4 separate regions of the Homo sapiens genome follow, and regions 1, 2 and 4 are each linked to region 3. The links are contacts of gene promoters, found by promoter capture Hi-C in blood cells and fetal thymus (Javierre and others, 2016). All regions are on one chromosome and are shown on one strand. Each heading gives the region's core, a stretch centred on a gene start or on the middle of the fragment in contact. The rest is flanking DNA. Distances are from core to core; before and after follow the strand shown.

The links. Contacts are between HindIII fragments. The CHiCAGO score rates a contact against its expected background, and 5 or more counts as called.
Region 1: a fragment that was not itself captured here is called in contact with the fragment with the promoter of LAMB3 in region 3 in 1 of 17 cell types (activated CD4 T cells); the score reaches 5.2 in activated CD4 T cells.
Region 2: a fragment that was not itself captured here is called in contact with the fragment with the promoter of LAMB3 in region 3 in 1 of 17 cell types (monocytes); the score reaches 8.4 in monocytes.
Region 4: a contact is called between a fragment that was not itself captured here and the fragment with the promoter of LAMB3 in region 3, in 1 of 17 cell types (monocytes). The highest score is 6.3, in monocytes.

The regions. Positions count from the first base shown.
Region 1 is chr1:209,844,871-209,849,438 of GRCh38, reverse strand. The region is part of intron 11 of UTP25 (UTP25 small subunit processome component); the gene reads right to left. Among named protein-coding and RNA genes, the nearest start is that of UTP25, 19 kb to the right of the region's middle. The HindIII fragment of the contact is 3,063 bases long and covers 1,366-4,428 here.
Region 2 is chr1:209,407,200-209,411,789 of GRCh38, reverse strand. No RefSeq gene overlaps it. Among named protein-coding and RNA genes, the nearest start is that of MIR205HG, 19 kb to the left of the region's middle. The HindIII fragment of the contact is 9,121 bases long and covers 1-4,590 here.
Region 3 is chr1:209,651,175-209,655,930 of GRCh38, reverse strand. LAMB3 (laminin subunit beta 3) reads left to right here and starts at 3,506. Exons shown (of 23, transcript NM_000228.3): 1 at 3,506-3,562. RefSeq lists an enhancer at 2,805-4,004. The HindIII fragment of the contact is 2,819 bases long and covers 2,879-4,756 here.
Region 4 is chr1:209,426,159-209,430,884 of GRCh38, reverse strand. It overlaps MIR205HG (MIR205 host gene), which reads right to left and starts at 2,065. Exons shown (of 4, transcript NR_145437.1): 1 at 1,797-2,065; 2 at 1,477-1,704; 3 at 409-460. RefSeq lists an enhancer at 2,144-3,067. The HindIII fragment of the contact is 1,211 bases long and covers 2,114-3,324 here.

The sequences.
Region 1 (4,568 bases), core at 1,648-4,147, 190 kb before region 3:
GGGAAGGGCAGTAAACCCCCACCCTTCCATTTGTCCCCCACACAAGACTTGTACCCAGTAAAAAGCATTCTGCCCCAGAGGAAGGGGTAAGAAACCTGTTCAGCCCAAGTTCCTGCACTGATACAAGCAGAGTTCGATTAGGGAAGAAGCTGTATACACTTCACCACAAAGATCCCTCACAGATAAAAGGTGGAGTCTGGCTGCCACGGAGGTAGCGGGGCAGGAACCCTGAGAAAACCTCACCCCCAAAGCTTGGAATAAAAAGGGCCTGCCAAAAATTGAGCTGGACCAGGAGAACCCCCTCCCCCCGACTTCATGCCTTGCAAGGAGAAACAAGAGGCCTCCTGTGAGGAGGGGTCTGAGTGTGGAGTGAGACCCTCCTCTGGCACACGTGTCAAGGCCTCAGTGACAGCTGAGCAATCAGGACACTGAGAAAAACCCTCCAGCACCCGAGACCCTACACCAAGCCCACTGTCTGCTGGAGGAATTTGAGGTCTGTGGTGTTGGGAAGGTATCTACAGTAACAATCAAATCCTGACTAGATTGATAGCACCCACACCAGTGGCCTACGGAAGGGGTGCGGCCGGACATAAGTATTATTTACTTCAGCCTCTACATTCCATTGAAAGTTATAGAAGACACAAAAAAGCAAGAAAAGACATCCAAACAATGAGGTATCATTTTGACTATCACATCAGTAGCAATAATTCAGTCTATGGAGCTTTGGAGAAATAGGTGAATGGAGCATAAATTACTTTGTCTATGAATTCAGGAGAAGATATGGAAAAGATGCAAAGGAGCAAATAAGTGGCAACGCATGACACATTTTTAACTGTGTACAGCCTCTGTGCTAACGAGTTTTCCTTTCAAAATCTATCCCAAGAAAATAACTAGGTAAGTATTTCATCAAAACATATGCATATGGATGTTTTGCGTATTATTATATACAACAGCAGAAAACAGAAAAAAAACCCCTATATGCCCACTAAAAGGAAGCTAGCTTAATTAACCAATGTAATACTATGTAGCCATTAAAAACAATGTGATGTTTACCTCACACGTTACTTATTAATTACATACACACACTAAGTGATTTTAGTGATTTGGCATCACCAAGAATGAGACAAAGTGACATTACGTGCCTTCTGATGAGATGAGGTAGAAAGTACGTAATATTCCCTAAGTAGAATTCTTATCAAAAGATATTTATTCTAAATCAGTCATCCCCAAACTGCTGCACATTGAAATCACCTAGCTGGTTGTTTTTTTATTTTTTTTATTAATACTTAGGTTTGGTCCCCATCCCAGACACTGCGATTTAATTGGTACTGGGATGTGACCTGGGCATTTGGATTTTTAAAAGCTTCTATTCTAACGTACGGCAAAGTTTGAGAACCACTGATCTAAATAACAAGGGAACAATTAGATAAATCCAGACTGTGAGACATACTGCAGGAAACCAGATTGGACTCTTCAAAAAGATGTCGATGTCATGAAAAAGTAAAAAAGCAAGAGAGTTATTCTGGATGAGGGTTTCTCAGTGTTAACACTGCTGACATTTTGAGACAGATAATTCTTTGTGGTTGGGGGCTGTCCTGTGAACGAAGGTGTTTCACAGCATCACTGGTCTCAACCCACTGGAACCACCAGAATAATCCTCCAGTTGTGATAACCAAAAATGTCTCCAGATATTGCCAAATGTCCCTGAGGGAGCAAAATTGTTCCCCAATTGAGAACTAAACTAGATTAAAGAAACAAAAGCAGTAAGTTAACCAAATGCTATATATGATCCTTACTGAATCCTTTTTGGCCGGAGGGGAAAGAGCTATAATGGTCATTTTGGTGACAACTAGCAAAATCTGAATATAGACTAGATATCAGATGATATTACTGTAGTAACATCAGGTAGCATGATAATGGTGCTATGGTTAGATAAAAGAATGTTTTTGTTTTTAGGAGCTACATGCTAAAATATTTAGGGGTGAAGTGTCAATGAAGACTCACGCTACTTTACTTTCAAATGGTTCAGGAAGAAAAAATAAGAGATGTGAGTGGGGATAGAGAGAAGATGGGTATGTGCAAATGTGATAAAATGAGAACAGCTGGTGGAATTTGGGGTAAAAGCATTTATAAATAAACAGATGTTTATTGTTAGTCTCTTAACAATTTTCTTTCACAATGAAATCTTTTCAAATAAAAACCTGGGGGAAGAGAGGATGTCGTAGAGCTATATATAGTAACTTAAAAATATACACAAAAATCCACAATATACAAATATACAGGCCAAAATGTTAGTCTTTGAATTTTTTTAAATGAGCACATAAAACATCTAAGACAAAGGAAAAAAAAATCCTTAAAACAAAAAAAGATCCTAATTTTAGTATTGTTTTTTAAAAAAACACGTGTGTGTGTGCACGTGTGCATGTGCACACATTTTTCACATAAAAAAGATGGAAAAAAATTACCAAAAAGAGTATTTATATCAGGGCAGTGAGATTTTTAACCTAAAATTTCCAATATCTCTACAATAACTGTGAAATACCCTCACAATCAGGAAAAACAAAACAATAAAACTGTTAAGTGTTATATTAAACACACACACATGAAAATCTGTCTCAGTCCCAATGCAACCACAATAGAGACTGAGTATCTCCTGGCAACAGAGAACATGGCCAGGGCCTCTTCCAAGGGGCAGTTAGTGGCAAGTCTCCATAGCTTGAGCACCCCTTACCCTGCCTTCCTCCTCCCTTATATATGCTTTGTTTTCAGTGACTCCTACAAACACAGCCTAATCACCCTTACAGTACCTTCCACATGTCTATTTCACGAGCCACTGTTAAAGACAAATGAGGCAACCACAATGAACTTGAAAGACTGGCTCCTTCCTACGGTCCATAAAGACCAAGTCTACTACTTCTAGAACTGGGATTCTCCTGTAGGGGAAGGGAGTAATCAGAAATTCCCAGCAGCCTTTCCAAACTCCACAAATCCCACCTCCAGTTTCTGACTTGCCTCCTGGTTGAGATCCTCCCTGCTGTGGAAACCCACTGATAACGCACTGGAAAAGAGCTGTGACCCATCACTGGGAGGGCAATCATGACCAAATGTTCATCCAATTCTAAGATTCTGCTAGTTTAATCTTCCCCACATAAAACAAATCTTCAGGTTAAAAAATTTTTGCTAACTCAAAAATGAATTCTAATCTTCCTAACATTGCCAGCTGTCATAGAGAATATAAAAACAGAGTCAGATACTACAATATAAAATACATGTACATTTTCTGGCCGGGCACGGTGGCTCATGCCTGTAACCCCAACACTTCTTGGGAGGCTGAAGTGCGCAGATCACATGAGGCCAGGAGTTCAAGACCAGCCTGGCCAACATGGCAAAACCTCGTCTACTAAAAATACAAAAATCAGCCAGGCGTGGTGATGCAATTCTGTAATCCCAGCTACTCAGGAGGCTGAGTCACGAGAATTGCTTGAACCCAAGAGGCAGACGCTGCAGCGGGCCGAGATCACACCACTGCACTCCAGCCTGAGCAACAAAGTGAGACTGTCTTAAAAAAAAAAAAAGAAAAAGAAAAAGAAAAAAAAAGTACTTATTCTAAGGTCAAATTAAAAAAAAAAAAATCACAAAGGCACTGCACACCAAAACATCCATCATCACCTTGGTGATCTCTCGAGCAAAAAATTCTATAGCTGGAAACCTTGAGATAATTAGCTGTTGCAGAACTCTAAAGCACATTATTTTCATTCATCTTCTACAAAAGAAACACCAATTAACCTGGCCCAGGGCATAAAGCAAATGGCATATGCTGAGATTTGTCCTTATCGTGACTTTGAGGGCAACATGGCTTGGTAAATAGACAGTGTAATACAGGAGACTGTCCTGCTTACAAAGGGCTCCATGCCCTGTCCTTGAAAAGCTGCTGAGATATTAAAGAGCTTAATTCCCATCCCAGCTTAATTCACAGTTGCCATAGACAATCACACTGGGAAGTTTTCCAATCCATCCACTTCACTTAAAGGGCTTGCTTTCATTTGTCAAGATGATAGAAAGCTAAGAGCTTTTAAGACCTGATGAGTGCAACTTCCCCAAATACTTTCCAACATGAATGGAAACGACAACTTACTGGAACAGAGCAAATAATGAGGGCAACAAGCAGGCATTCATTAACACTCTTTGGCCAAGCAGCCTTCTCTGGGTAGCCAAGAATGGAGCCTGGGAAACACAAATTTAATCAATCCTCAACTCTCTAAGAGGTCATGCCATGCCAGCTTTGCTATGCCTAGGCAAGCTGCTGGGACGCCTCCCTCCCCATCCTGGGAACAAGGACGTTATCTGGGGAGCACCATCCTAATCGTTTTAGCATAAACTAAAAGGTAATGCAATGCCAAAGTGCATCATCTAATGTGCTCCAAAGCTTGGGAGATTTCTGGCGTATCTGTTTAGGATTCTCTGAGAAAATGCACCCATTGTGAGTTAATAAAACAGTAAAGTCAGAACTTAAATCCACTGGACATTATTGTGAAATCAGGATGAGGTAACAGAATGTAATTTACATA
Region 2 (4,590 bases), core at 480-2,979, 240 kb after region 3:
GAAAAGAAGCCTGACAGAACTCATTGTTGTAAAATTATTCCTTCCCCATTTCTCACTCTCCTACCAAGAAAAAAAAATAAAGAGGCATCTTCAGTTTCACAACCCTTTTCTGTCTGTCTGGACTTGCTCAGAAAGCCTTGAGAGAGGCCAGATATTTTTGGTGGGAAGTAGGGGGTGGCCTTCCGCTCTGCTAAGAAAACATTTTCTGAGCATGTTGTCTGTAAAGAACCCTGTATTGCATTTGAGTAGTCATGCCCATTTCTGCTGAGGGGAAGCAAGCTGGTCGTCATTCTGGCTCTCCTTGGGTGGTGGTAGTGTCGGTGGTGCCAGTGGCAGTTGTAGGGGTGATGGAAGGGGCTGGTGTGTGTGCTACTAGAGTGGGGACAGGGAGATATTGCAAAGAGGAAGGATAAAAAATAAGCCTCCTTGGAAAGCACAATGTTGATGGACTAAATTATTTGCTCTGAGAGAAGGCAAATACACAGTTCTGCGCAGAAAGATAATTCTCTTGGATTTGGGGAAATTCTTTTGATCTGCAGAAGAATTTCAAGTTACAGTAGAGAATAAGAAACTGGTTAGCCTTTCACTTTTTTAAAACAAAGGAAAAATACATAGCTTTAGCAGCTTGCTTTTCTTTATTGTGATGCTGTAATAAGAATTTGTCAACATTTTAAAATTCATCTAGGCTCTTCATTCAGTTGACTTAAATGATTAATTGTGTACCAGTTTTTCTTAATGTCTAGATTTGTAATTAGTTACTCCTGCTAATTTTGAAAAATTGGATTAAAATGTTGCATGTCTGCTGTAATTGAACAGACCACCTCTATTTCATCTAGAAAATGACTTCCAATAATGTAATACATTATTGACTAAAACTTAACATAAAGTTATTAATGATTGAAAACTTCAAAGCATCTGTCTGCAAACAAGGATAGATCCAGAAATTCAGAGCTGAAGGGGACATTAGAGATCATACCAGTGGGTCTCAGCCAGGGACATTTGGATATGTATATGGTTGTTTGGGATTTTCACAGTGACAGTGACCAAGGGACACAATTGCATTTAATGTCCCAAAATCATGGATGCTAAGCAATCTACGGAATGTGATATAGTTCCACATAGCAGAGAACTTCCCTTTCAAAGTGGCAGTATTGCCTCAGTTAGGAAGATTGAATTCAGTTCTTCATTTGAGATATGAGGATACTGAGCCCTGATATTCCCTGGGTCAATAAAGTGGCAACGAGTGGGGCTGATGTCCATGTCTATCTGTTTCAGGGAAGAGGTCCTGATGCAGACCCCAAAATAGGGTTCTTGGATCTTGTGCAAGAAAGAATTCAGAGCCAGTCCATAGAGTAAAGTGAAAGCAAGTTTATTAGGACAGTAAAGGAATAAAAGAATGGCTACTCCATAGACAGAGCAGTCCCAAGGGCTGCTGGTTGCCCGTTTTTATGGTTATTTCTTGATTATATGCTAAACAAGGGGTGGATTATTCATGCCTCCCTCTTTTAGACCATATAGGGTAACTTCCTGATGTTGCCATGGCATTTGTAAATTGTCATGGCGCTGGTGGGAGTGTAGCAGTGAGGACAACAGAGGTCACACTCATGGCCATCTTAGTTTTGGTGGATTTTAGCTGGCTTCTTTACTGCAACCTGTTTTATCAGCAAGGTCTTTATGACCTGTATCTTGTGTGGACCTCCTGTCTCATCCTATGACTCAGAATGCCTTAACCATCTAGGAATGCAGCCCAGTAGGTCTCAGCCTTATTTTATCCAGCTCTTATTCAAGATGGAGTTGCTCTGGTTCACATACCTCTGACATACCTTTGATGTGATTCAGTTTCTTGGGTTTCCTTAAGCCAATGTTAACAGTAGTTGCACAACTAGAGTAAACAGAACTTCTCCATTATATAGTGGAAGAAGCAACAAAAACCTGGTGTCAGTTTTGGTGCCGGGGTATCTGTCATCTCCTTCGTTTCTACTGTGGATCACAAATCTTCTCTCAACCAAAAAAATGACTTAAATATACAAGAAAAACAATGAAAATGATCAAGAATGGATGGGCCAACTCTTTGAGGAAATTGTCAAGTTAACAAATAAATGAGAGAAGATGAAAGCCCAGTGGAAGTTGAAGTTCAATCTCTTTCAAGAATAGGGAAGCCAGGCGTGGTGGCTTACTCCTGTAATCCCAGCACTTTGGGAGGTGAGGCGGGCAAATCACCTGAGGTCAGGAGTTCAAGACCAGCCTGGCCAACATGATGAAACCCTGTCTCTACTAAAAATACAAAAATTAGCCAGGGGTTGTGGCACATGCCTGTAATCCCAGCTACTTGGGAGGCTGAAGCAGGAGAATTGCTTGAGCCCAGGAGGCGGAGGTTGCAGGGAGCCGAGATTGGGCGACTGCACGCCAGCCTGGGTGACAGAGTGAGACTCCGTCTCAAAAAAAAAGAAGAAGAAGAATAGGGAAGTCAAATTAGAGAGGTTAGAATCTATAAGTTAAGGGTGGGTGGAGAGATATTATTATGTAGTCATTTTGAATCAGATCACAGTCTTCATGTCCAGGTGGCTGGATCTCATATAATAAAGACATTTTTAGATGAAATCTCAAAACTCTTGTTTTCCACATCACAAAGATGAAAAATTTCCCAGAATACTAGAAATAGAAAAATATTCTTCTAATTTTCAAAAAGAGGGAAAAAGGAGTTTTGGAAGCCACCTCTAACAAAACTTGGCCTTGGATCTGATAGAATTCTTCAACAGTATATTAAACTCATGCTTTATGCATGCTTAGAAAAGAATGAGGTGATCTCTAGCAACCAGTACGGATACTGCTACCATAAACTGACCCATTATGAACTGACTACACTGGCAAATCTGTGAAGGTCCATAAACCTAGAATATCTCTATTTCCATAACATGTTTGACATGGTGTTCTATGATATCCTAGTGGATAAGACTACGATAGCTGAATTAGGCACTGTTGAAGTTAAGTGCATTTCCAGTTGGTTGAATTTAGGTATTTAAAGAGTGTTGATAATCTGGAAGGAGAGGCTGGTAAGGTTTACTTTTGCTATAACTATGTGATCTTTAATATATAAATCAATAATTTGAAGGAACACAGTAACAAATAGATTTCCAATTTTTTGTATGACATAGAGTGATGGAGAAAACATTAAAAGTAATCTCTATACACTAGAAGTCTGGATCAGATTCAAGAAGATGAGACTTAACACATATAAATGTTAATCTACTGCACCAATGCTCAAAAAAATCAACTGTGCAATGACAGAATAGGGAAAGCTAGTTTTGCAGATGCTAATATTGAAAAGGCAAGGGCTTTTTACGTAAAGGACTCTTTATTGGACCATAACCAAAAGATGAAACAATAGTGACATGTGGTTTTCCTAAAAGCAAATATGATCTAAGATGTGTCCAGAGAATCATGTTAGGTTGGTGAAGGGCTTGGAAAATATGTTACATGAGGAATGATTGAACGACTAAAAGAACTTGTCGTATCTGGGCTATAAAAGAGATGACTAAAATGTCAAGGTTGTCTTCCAATATTTGAGGTTTCCTGTAAGGAAAATGGAGAGGGTTTGCCTTGCAAGAAGTTAAGGTAGTAGAATGAAGACCAACCGGCAGAAGTTACAAGGAGGCAAATTTTAATTGAGTATAAGGAAAAACTAACTAGCAGTCAAGAAGAAATGGGCTTACATGCCTATTTATAGCAGCATTATTCACAATAGCCAAAAGGTCATAGCAACCCAACCATCCATCCACAAATGAGTGGATGAGCAAAATGTGTTACATACATGCAATGAAATATTATTAGGCCTTCAAAAGGAAGGAAATTCTGACACATACTACAATGCAGATGAACCTTGAAAATATTGTGCTAAGTAAAATAAGCCAGTCACAAAAGGACAAGTATCATAATGATTCCACTTACATGCGTGCTAGAGTAGTCAAATTCATAGAGACAGAAAGGAGAATGGTGGTTGCCAGGGACTTGGGGAGAGGACAATGGGAAGCTGTTATTTAATGGGTATAGAGTTTCAGGTTGGGAAGATGAAAAGCTCTAGAGATGGATGGTAGCACAGTAATGTGAACGAACTTACTGCCACTGAACTGTACACTTAAAAATGGCTAAAATGGTAAATTTTATATATATTTTACCACAGTTGAAAAACAAATTGGGGGCTCCATTGCCTATGGAATAAACCAAACAAAGAAGAAGGAATGGGCTTATGTGCGAGGTATTGAGTTTCCTGTAACTGTAAGTATCAAAATCGGGACTGGACAGTCTCAGGGTGACATGCTCTAGGGAACATTTCAGGGTGAGAAGCAATCCCAATGATTTCAGAACGTCTGTAACTCCACATGAAAACAGAGGCTTACTCTGTGCCTCAGATTGAGTAAGGCTGCATACTTTCTTGATATGTATTAACATATGCAAGAGTATATTCATATATAATATATCATACATGCAAAAGACCATGTTATATAACAAATATGCATTTTACTATGTACAATTTAATAAATATTTTAAAAATGGATCTCCTTCTAGTCCCCATACAGGTTTAATACTGAG
Region 3 (4,756 bases), core at 2,257-4,756:
GTCACCTGGTGCCCCTTCCTCCAACACCTGAGAGTCACAGCCTGGACCAGGTTCTCCTATGCCCCCTGAACCTCTTCTCTCTCCTTTTCTTCCTCCTTTTCTCCTTCCTTTGTTCCCTATCCCTTGATCTCTGATTGATCAGATCTTGGCTGATCTCCCTAGCGACTTGGACGGTTTGAGCCTGACAGATGGATAATAGACACAGTAGCTTATAATGCCACCCCCACACCCTGTCAGAGACATTGCCAGGAATGACTGAGAAGCAGGCAAAGAAGGAGACTGCCTCTGTCAATATGGTGACATTTCTGTAATTGGAGATAGGTGCCTCAAAAAAGACCTCCGCACTCTGGCTGATACAGGAATTTCCACTATTAGTAATCCATCCCAGTGCCCAAAGCCTGGATTGTCCCCTCTGAGAATGCAACTACACATCAACGGCACAGGGGATGCATTGAACTGTATCAATTGTTTGTACTTTAGTGTGGATCCATTCATTCCACAAGTATTGAGCACCTACTATGTGCCAGGCACTTGGAAAACAGTAGTGAATAAGATAGAAATCTCTGCCTTCTTGGATATTACATTCTAGTTGGGAAGAGACAGAAAATAAACATAAGCAGATAAATTATATAGTTGGTTAGAAGCTGGTACATGATGCCCCCCTACCAAATAAGTAAATAAATAACTCACCAAAATATAGGGTAGGTGGGGTTAGGAGTGTTAGGATGGGGGACAGGGATGGGGCAGGGAAGTTGGCTGTAATTTTAATAGTGTGTTTAGGATAGGCCTCATTGAGAAGTTAGGATCTGAACAAAGACTTTGAAAGAGGTCAGAGAGTTAGCTTTGTAGATATCCAGGGGCAAGACCGTTCCAGGCAGCAGAAGCAGCTGGAGCCAAAGCCCTAAGCCTGAGCTAAGACAGGGATAGAGGCCATTGTAGTAGAGGTGAAGAGTAATGGGAGGAAGGTGGTGTAGGGTCCCCTAGACTCTGAAAAAGCTCTGGCCTTGGCCCTGAGTGGGATAGGGGCATGTGAAGATTCTGAGCTCGGGGTGCATAACCTGCTGTGTTGGGACTTGACTGTATATCAGTGAGGAGGCTGTTGCAGACGTCCCAGGAAAAGAGGCTCAGGCCAGGAGGGAAGAAGTAGATTCTGATTATTATTGGAAGGCAGAGCTGACCGAATTTGCTGATGGAGTGATGAGGTTTGAAAGATACTGAAGTCTGGGATGACTTCACTAGCCACTTTCCTGAGCACACATTCTAATAAGTCAAGGCTCTAGGGCAGATAAGTGCTCTGTTGTAGGAGGATGGGCGCAGGGAGAGAGGAAAGGTGTGCACACAGGGGAGGCTGAGGGGCTCCAGCCACAGTACCACACCCCTTTAATCTTAGCTGGACCCTGATCTGGCCTCAGGCTCTATTTTAGGCTACTTGACTGAACAAATTGGGTTCTGAAGCTCCAGAGCTTGTGCCTGGAGCCCTGGAGTTCTTGGGGGACTGGATCCCCACTTGGAAATGATCAGTGTCCCTCAGGAGTGAGGCTGGCTGGGCTGCTCTTGGGGGTCTGCATAAACAGCTTCCTGGACTTTGCCGGGAGTGTAGGGGAGAGCCAAGCACAGCAATTGGCATGTCCCTCCTGCGAAGCCAAACCACTCCAGGACCTGCCCAAGCCTGTGAAGTCTGAGACACCGAATGTGTATTTACCTGGGCTCATGGCCTCAGATAAAGGGAGGAGGAGGAGGATTTAAGGGGCCCCAGCTACTCATGGTGAGGCCCACCGCACACCTGCCCTGCCTTTTCTCCTCTGAGGATCTGGGATTGCAACACCTGCTCTCTTCTGCTGAGTTAATTATTAATGAGTTCTTTGTCACATCCTCTGGTGATGGGCAGAGGGCGAAAGTTTCATGAGCGCTCTGAGTTCAGGGAGTTGGGGAAGTGGAGAGAAAGAGACCACCAGGTGGGAGAACTGAAAACACAGGTGTGTCAGAGTCAGAGCTGACCTTTCTCGGTGGGGGACTTGAGGGAGGTCTCTCTGTGTTGAAGGGACACTGCTTCTACTGACCTTACTTGCTGAGTTGAGCTAGATTTCACTGGAATGCTTACAGGGGGCAAGACTCTAACATTTATTGGACTATCAATTATGCATCAACTTACATCAACAACTCACTGCCCACTTGCTAATTACACTATTTCTTCTGCCTACCTGAACTTATGCTTAATTCGAATCTGAGGGTTAGAAATGCCCAATTTAATCCACAAAATTCTACATTTCCCCCTTAAGGGTCTTCAAGCCAATTTCTTGGACATAACCCTCCAATGGTGGAGAACTTTCTGTTTAGGAGACACTAACAAAGTGGAATCGTAGTTAAGAAGCTCCTTTAAATAGTAGCTTTGAGGTCCTAGCATTCCAAAACGGTGCCAGTGCAGGCTCTCCAGGGCCAAGATATGGACTGGCTGACCCTCCAGGTTTCCCTAAAAGCTCTCTGACCCTAACCTGGGGGAAAGAGTGTCCTGTGAGACCAGCCTCTCAATTTGGACCTGCCACTTCCATTTACAGTGGCTGGAAGCCCAGGATCCCTGAGCAAGGAGCCCACAAAAGAAGCTGTGTTCTCAGGCCTGGCAGGAGGCCAGGGAAAGTCTGTTTTGACTTTGTCAGTCAAGCTATGCTTCAGCCTTTCCTTCCACCACTTGTGGTCAGGTCTGTTTTCTGGCCCTCCAGGCGGGCATTCCTGCCTAGGGAGGGAGGGGCTAGGAGACTAACCCTCCCCACAGGTGGGAGGAGTGACTCACAGGCAGCTACCTGTCCCAGGGCTCCCTGCCAACCCTGTGGAGGGAGCTGGAGGCGAGCCATTTAGTTACTCTGCTCATTTCTCTTAAGCTTTCCTTGGATGAGTTGAGCTTTGAATCCTTCCTGATGAACCTTGCCTTTTAAGGATCCTCCAAATGCCCCAAGAAGCTGGGATTTTTCATTTTTTTTTTCACTGGGGAGGGGAATGGTGCTTTCCAGGGTCCTGGATGTTTGAGTCTTCTCACCTTCCAGCCCGGTGATATGTCTGGAGCTTTAACTCTCTATATAAGCCCTAATCTTTGTGTTCTCTGCCTGATCTTCTGTCTGGGGTGGTCCAGGTCACAAGAAGAAGCTGACCCCTGCTGGCTTTGGGAAAATGCTGAGTTCATTGCCTGGCACAAATGCAAGGGCCCTTCCCCACCCTGTGAATTCTGGTCTCTGATGATCACTTACATGTGCCTTGTGCTTTCTGTTTGAGGGGCCCCTTGCAGCCCCCACAGGCAGGTGGGCATTGTGGAGCTCACTACAAGAACTCTGGGACGGACCGACCAACCCACTTGCCCAGTCCCGTCCTGGGAGGTGGGGGTGCAGTGACGACAGATGGGTGTGACGGCTGCCAGATTCCTGAGACCCGCCCTGCGGTGGGGCTACACCCAGCCAGGGAGTCTCCAGAGGTGAGGCTGTTGTTTAAAAACCTGGAGCCGGGAGGGGAGACCCCCACATTCAAGAGGAGCTTTCAGGCGATCTGGAGAAAGAACGGCAGAACACACAGCAAGGTATGTTACCTGTCTTTACCTGCCTGGTGCGGGCCGGATGCGGGAGGAGGACTGTATCTCTGGATGCCTGGGGCCTGGTTTCAGGGCCTGATTTATTCCTCTTCCTGGGAGCTCACTCAGGTGAGCTAGGTTAAAATGTCTGCTACAGTTTTGATTTCTTTTTCACATTTGATAAGCACCTCAGTGGCTTAGAAGAAAGCAGGTTCAGATCCGGGGTTGAGCACAAAAGAGAAGTGAGAAGGGTGGGCTGGCCTGGCTCAGAATGCCTACTTGCAGGGGGATTTTCAGTCAGGGGTGGGAAAGCTGAGAAAGCACTGGATGAAAGTCAGAAGATGGGTCTCTCTTAGGCCATCGTTAGCTGTGGGACCCCAGGCCACATGTTCCCTCCCTGGGCCCATGACTCTTTTAGGAGAGGGATTGGAAGGAATGATTTTGAAGCATTAGGATCTATAATTTAAAGATGCCAGAAATGTCCTCAATTTCCCCCCCCGCCCCTGCCTTGCCAAGCCCCCAGCCCTCCACCCCAGCCAAAAGAGTTTGTGGCTGTCATTGGAACAGAGTGAACATCCAATTCAAGGCAGAAGGGTCACTGCATGAGCAAGGGTGGGGCATGTTTCCACAAGGCAGGCCTGCCTCTGGGACCCCACGGTGGCTTTCGAGCATCCTTCCCCAGCCTCCTTCAGAATCCCTGCTTTGTGGCCTCCCAGCCCCACCCCTCTTGTCGAGCCCCAGCCCATCATTGAAGACATTTTGGGTTGCTTCCCTTTCAGAAGAAACCCTCACTCACTTGTTAAAGACAGCCATACATCTCTCCCTGTTGCATCCCAGAATTGTGGGCACAGAGCCTCAAACTCAAAGTGGCCCTGAATGGTATTGGAGGCCATGCCCGTGACAGGAGAAGGTTTGCCTCCAGGCCGTCAGCCACTCTGACTCATTCACTTTGGGCGGGGCTGGGTTGAGGCTGCTGGTCTAGGCCCTGAGAAAAGCCAGCCCTCTCTCTTGGGGCTGGAACTAGGTCTTGGCCCTTTCTACAGCTTTTCTCCTGCAAAGGGTCCAGCCTTTTCCTGCTCCCCACGTTGTCCTTACGGCTGTGTGGGGTAGGGCAGGGTCCACACTCCTTCCCATCCATTTTAGAGGAGGAAGCTGGAGTCTGGGAAGGGATGGGATTTTCCCAGGGCACCCTGTGAGTCACAT
Region 4 (4,726 bases), core at 1,470-3,969, 220 kb after region 3:
CAGAGATCTGGGTAGTGAGGGGAAGAAGACTGGTTCATCTTCTCCTGCTCTGCCTTCTTGATAAACACTCACAGTTCTCAATAATGAGAGGAAAATGCACCCTGCTTGTGAATTATCTGGACCAGATCCTCCTCCTGCACCGCCTTTGACCCATTCCCAGTCAAAGGGAAGAAAGAGGCCAGTCTGTTGGCTGTAATAAATAAATGATGGCCTGGGATGGTAGGAGGAAATGATGCCAGGAAGGCAAGATTCTTTGCCTTCTCTTTAGATTTCTGCTTAACTCCAAGAGCAAAAGGGGCAGTCAATTCTTCTCCCTCCAGACCCTCGGCACCCCGCTCTTCCCCTCCCAACATGTACAGTCCACTAGATTATTAAAGTCCTCACTCTGGAGTGTGCAGAGAGCCTCACCCTCATGTGGGGTCCGTACCCTCCAAGATGGGTACTTGAGAGATGACAGTGTCTGCAAAAAGCAAATGGGAGGTGGCATTAATGTCAGAGAGCCCCAGAAAGGTGAGTTCTTTCCTTATCACTCTCCCCTTGCTTTACAGACCTGTAGCTGCTACAGGCAGAGACAAAAAACCATGAGTCACAACCTGTATCAGGAGACTTGACCTGCTCTGGACTCCTTGTTCAAGATTCTTCTGCCCACTATGCCTTTGCCAACTGAATCCCCCAGTGGCCTTCACCATGGTTACATGGGTCTAGAGCCAAGCACATGCACGATCAGAGAACAAACCATGCATGGGCTCGCTACAGGGTAAGTCCATCCAGTGACCACTTTCTTCCCCCCAGCTGCCCTCAGGATTACGTCCCAAGTGTCTTCATAACATTAAAACCAACTTGAACATGAGACTCAAAGAATGAAACCACGTCCTAAATTTTCCAGTACAGGTGCACCCTGCACCCCAGGACTGAAAAACCAGCCAAATCTCTGTTCTTCTAGTTGAGTAAATCTCCACAAAACCAGACAGAGCTACAATCTTGGTGCTTAAACTGCTCAGCACCCACCTTATCACACCAATTCCTATTATCAGCAGAATTTACTGCCTGGGATCCCTGGAAATCCTTGAGAAAACACCAAAGTGGCTGAGGATTGGTTTAAAATGCAGCAGGTTCAGCTATTTTAGCCTTGGAGGAAGTTGATAATTGACTTGCAGTGAATATGGCATTTTCCAGTCTCCTCTTCCTGCCCAATGAGCCCCCTGATCTAGCCACTCATCTTTGTTTTTCCAAAGTTCCCCAAATCCACAGATTTCAGACTCACCTTTAAGTACGAGTACCTGTGCCTTGAGACATCAGGACCTAGCTTTGAGTTTGCTTCAAAATAAGAATTTTTTTTTTTTGTCATAAGATAATGCAGAACAGAGAGATGGCTACAGCCATGCAGATGAGAAGAAGAAAAGAAATTTCAAATCTTGGATGTTTCTTTTGCCCCTAAGGCTTGAGGACAGGGAACAAAAAATGAGAAACACTTACCCTATATAAAGCACCCAGTTCAGCAGGCCTGTGCGGAACAGAAATGACTCCTGAGGAAAGGTGGGGGCCGGTCCTGAATAGTTGATTTCTCTCTTTAATGAAAAAGAACATGAGGCCGGATGCGGTGGCTCACGCCTGTGATCCCAACACTTTGGGAGGCCGAGGCAGGTGGATTGCTTAAGCTCAGGAGTTCAAGACCAGTCTGGGCAACATGGTGAAACCCCGCCTCTACAAAAAAATACAAAAAATTAGTCAGGCGTGGTGGTGTGCGCTTGTAGTCCCAGCTACTTGAGGGGCTGAGGCAGGAGAATCGCTTGAACCTGGGAGGTTGAGGCTGCAGTGAGCCCAAGATTGAGCCACTGCACTCCTGCCCGGGCGACAAAGTGAGACCCTGTCAGAAAAAAAAAAAAAGTAAGCAGAGGAAAGTGGAATTGAAGGAGAGGGAGTAAAGGTAGCTGGAAAAGAGAGAGTTTGGAGTATGGTTGAGAATTGAGCTGAATTTTTAGAATAGAGATTAGTAACAGACAATAAAAGAGAAACTGGTTTTTCCAAGTCAAGGGTGAGCAAGAGGGACTCAGCCCATTTCAAGGAGGTGGTACTAGTTTCACTCTTTATTTATGCACCTCTCAGCAAAGCTTCAGGTTACCTGCTGAACTCAACCAATGGAGAAAGGGCCTGGCAGCTGGTCCCACCTCTCAGAACCCACACCCCTGGGGGACCATGAATGGAGAGGTCTTTCTGCAGGCTACCCGTACTTTCTCATTGTTGTGTGAACACCAGAAAAGGGAAGTGAGGTCTTTGTCATCCCAGAGTTGGAGAGACACTGCAGGTTATCTGAGCCTTGCACCTGAAGCCTTAGTCCTCCCAGAGACCTACCTAATCGGGGAGAGGGGAATGCTAAGATTTTATCTTGTCCTAAGGAAGCTGAGTGTTTGTGTGTGTGTGTGTGTGTGTGCGCGCGTGTGTGTGCGCGCTTGCTTGCTTGAGCTTTTAGCCTGACCTGAGTTGCTGTCTCTACACAATGCACTTCGGGAATCCAGCAGAGATAGGCCAGTCCATCCAGGCAGAGCTGTAGAAAGAGGCCGGAGGGTCACAGTCGAGGCCCAGCCAGAGGCTTATCCTGGCATTTAGTACAGAGTAAGTCTGCTGCTCCCCTTGTGAGAAGCAAGTGTTTCTTTTATAATCCGAAAGGCTTTGTGACCTGCTTCCCTTTCATGTCTGGGGGTGGGGAAAAGACCACACTGCGAGGGGAAATTAAGGAAAGAGAAGGCAAGCTCATTAGTAACTTTAAAGAGGGCGGTCTATAAACTTGATTATTTTACCCCACCCCCGCTTCCATGCGCAACTTGGGCTCCGCCTCCTGCCCCTCCCCTATCTCTCGGCCCATCTTGCCAGCTTCCCCCTCCCTCGTTCCCCCTTCCAAGTGCACACCTGGAGGGCAAGGGAAGTTGAAGTCTCCTCAAATGTGCCACATTTCACCCAGGATCCTGGCCTGCTTTCCATTTGTTCTCCAGGTAAATCTAGTGTGCAGCGAAGGCAGATTCCTCTATTCTCCAGCGGAAGGGAGGGAACTGAAGAATCCAATCTATAGGACCTCTTAGTGCAGTCCTGTCCCACAGCCCTTCATGGAACTGAATCATGCCTGCCCAAAATCTCCCTAGAAATCAGCTAATCTAAACTTCTTACCGCATAGACTGGGGAACAGAAGTTTTGAAAGGTGAATTTCTGTCTTGCACAGCCAGTGCAGAGTCAAGATTCTAATCTACCTGGATCTCCCAAACCCCATTTAAAAGCCCTTTAAAACAAACCCTACACGTTGTTTTCCCCGGTTCTGGCGGACCTGAAGCTTGTCTGAACTATTCTGGATTCTTCCTGGGAGAAGAAAAGCCTCCACTGGTGAAGAAGAAAAACCAATACAGACCAATAGGAGGAGGGCAGGGAGATCTTCCACGTGATAGCTTCCTTAAGCACCGGACTCCTCCCCTAAACCGTGGAGCTCATGGCTTCCCTGCTGACTGGACCCAGTTTGCCTACACTGAGCCTCAGCTCTCCCATTTCCCAAAAAGTAATGCAGGCAGAGAAGCGAATTGTTCCTGGCCACAGTGATACACCCACATTGTGTGCTGAAGACTCTGGGCCCCCTTCTGACCTTTCCCTGCTCCCTCTCTCCCTCTTCCTTCCAGAATAGCATTCATTCATTCATTCACTTACTCACTCTCCCCATCACGTATCATTCCATGAGCATCGACTCTGTGCCAGGTGAGTGAGAGGCTGCGTTTACCCCCTAGGAGCTCCCAGCCTAGATGGACATCTACAAGAAGAGGCAAAAACATAGGCCAATGAGGAAAAACATGATGAATATCCCCCACAAAGGGAACTGCCGCATTTGTCTGTGAGATTCAGGGAAGGCTCTACAGACAGAGTGACATATTGGAACTGAATCTGAAAAAATGATGGCGGGCTGAGTGTGATGAAGACCTGCGAAAATTCAGGCCTTGAGGGAGGAGCTCTCACATGTTCAGAGCAGCCTGGGGTGCCGGGGACTGGAGAGCGCAGCCATCTTGTGATGGGCCTGTGGATTTCATTCACAGGTCAGGAAGCTCCGGAAGTCTCGAGACAGGGAATGAATGGACCAGAACTGTTTTTCAGAAGCCAGTTAGGACTGGAGGCAGAGCAACTGACTGCTGAGGAATATGACTGCCCCCAAAATATAGGGGAGAGGAGGGTAAGGAGGAGTGCCTAGGGCAGACGATATCAATAGTCCTGCTGGTCATATTCTGTCCCCTTGAGGGTTCATCTTTGACCTCTAAATTTGTTCAGAAAAATGGGATAAACCTATAGATTTATTGATTCTATATCCATCCAATACAGTAAAGAAAGACGACCTGCCCAAAATTATTATTATATTTTCTTCCCTTCAACTTCAGTCACCACAGCCCAGGAGGATGCTCTGTGGACTGACTGGACACTGGTTGGTGTGGAAGGTCTAGAGGGTGGGGGAAGCATATCTGGGTGGCTCTGCTGGAAGTTTCTTCTTCCAGCCCCTCAGCCTGGCTCTTTGTTCCAGAGTCAGCTTGTGAGGCAAAAGCCTTGATGTCCCTCTTCCCCTAGGTTTCTAGTTCCGTGTCTCTGAGAGGCATTCCGCAGAGTCATCCAGGGTGGTGCTGTGCTTGCCTGAGTGTGTCTGGGGTACAGGAGATGGAGATGGGGAGTGGAACAGCGTAGTGTGGTTGGAAGGGGAGGATACAGG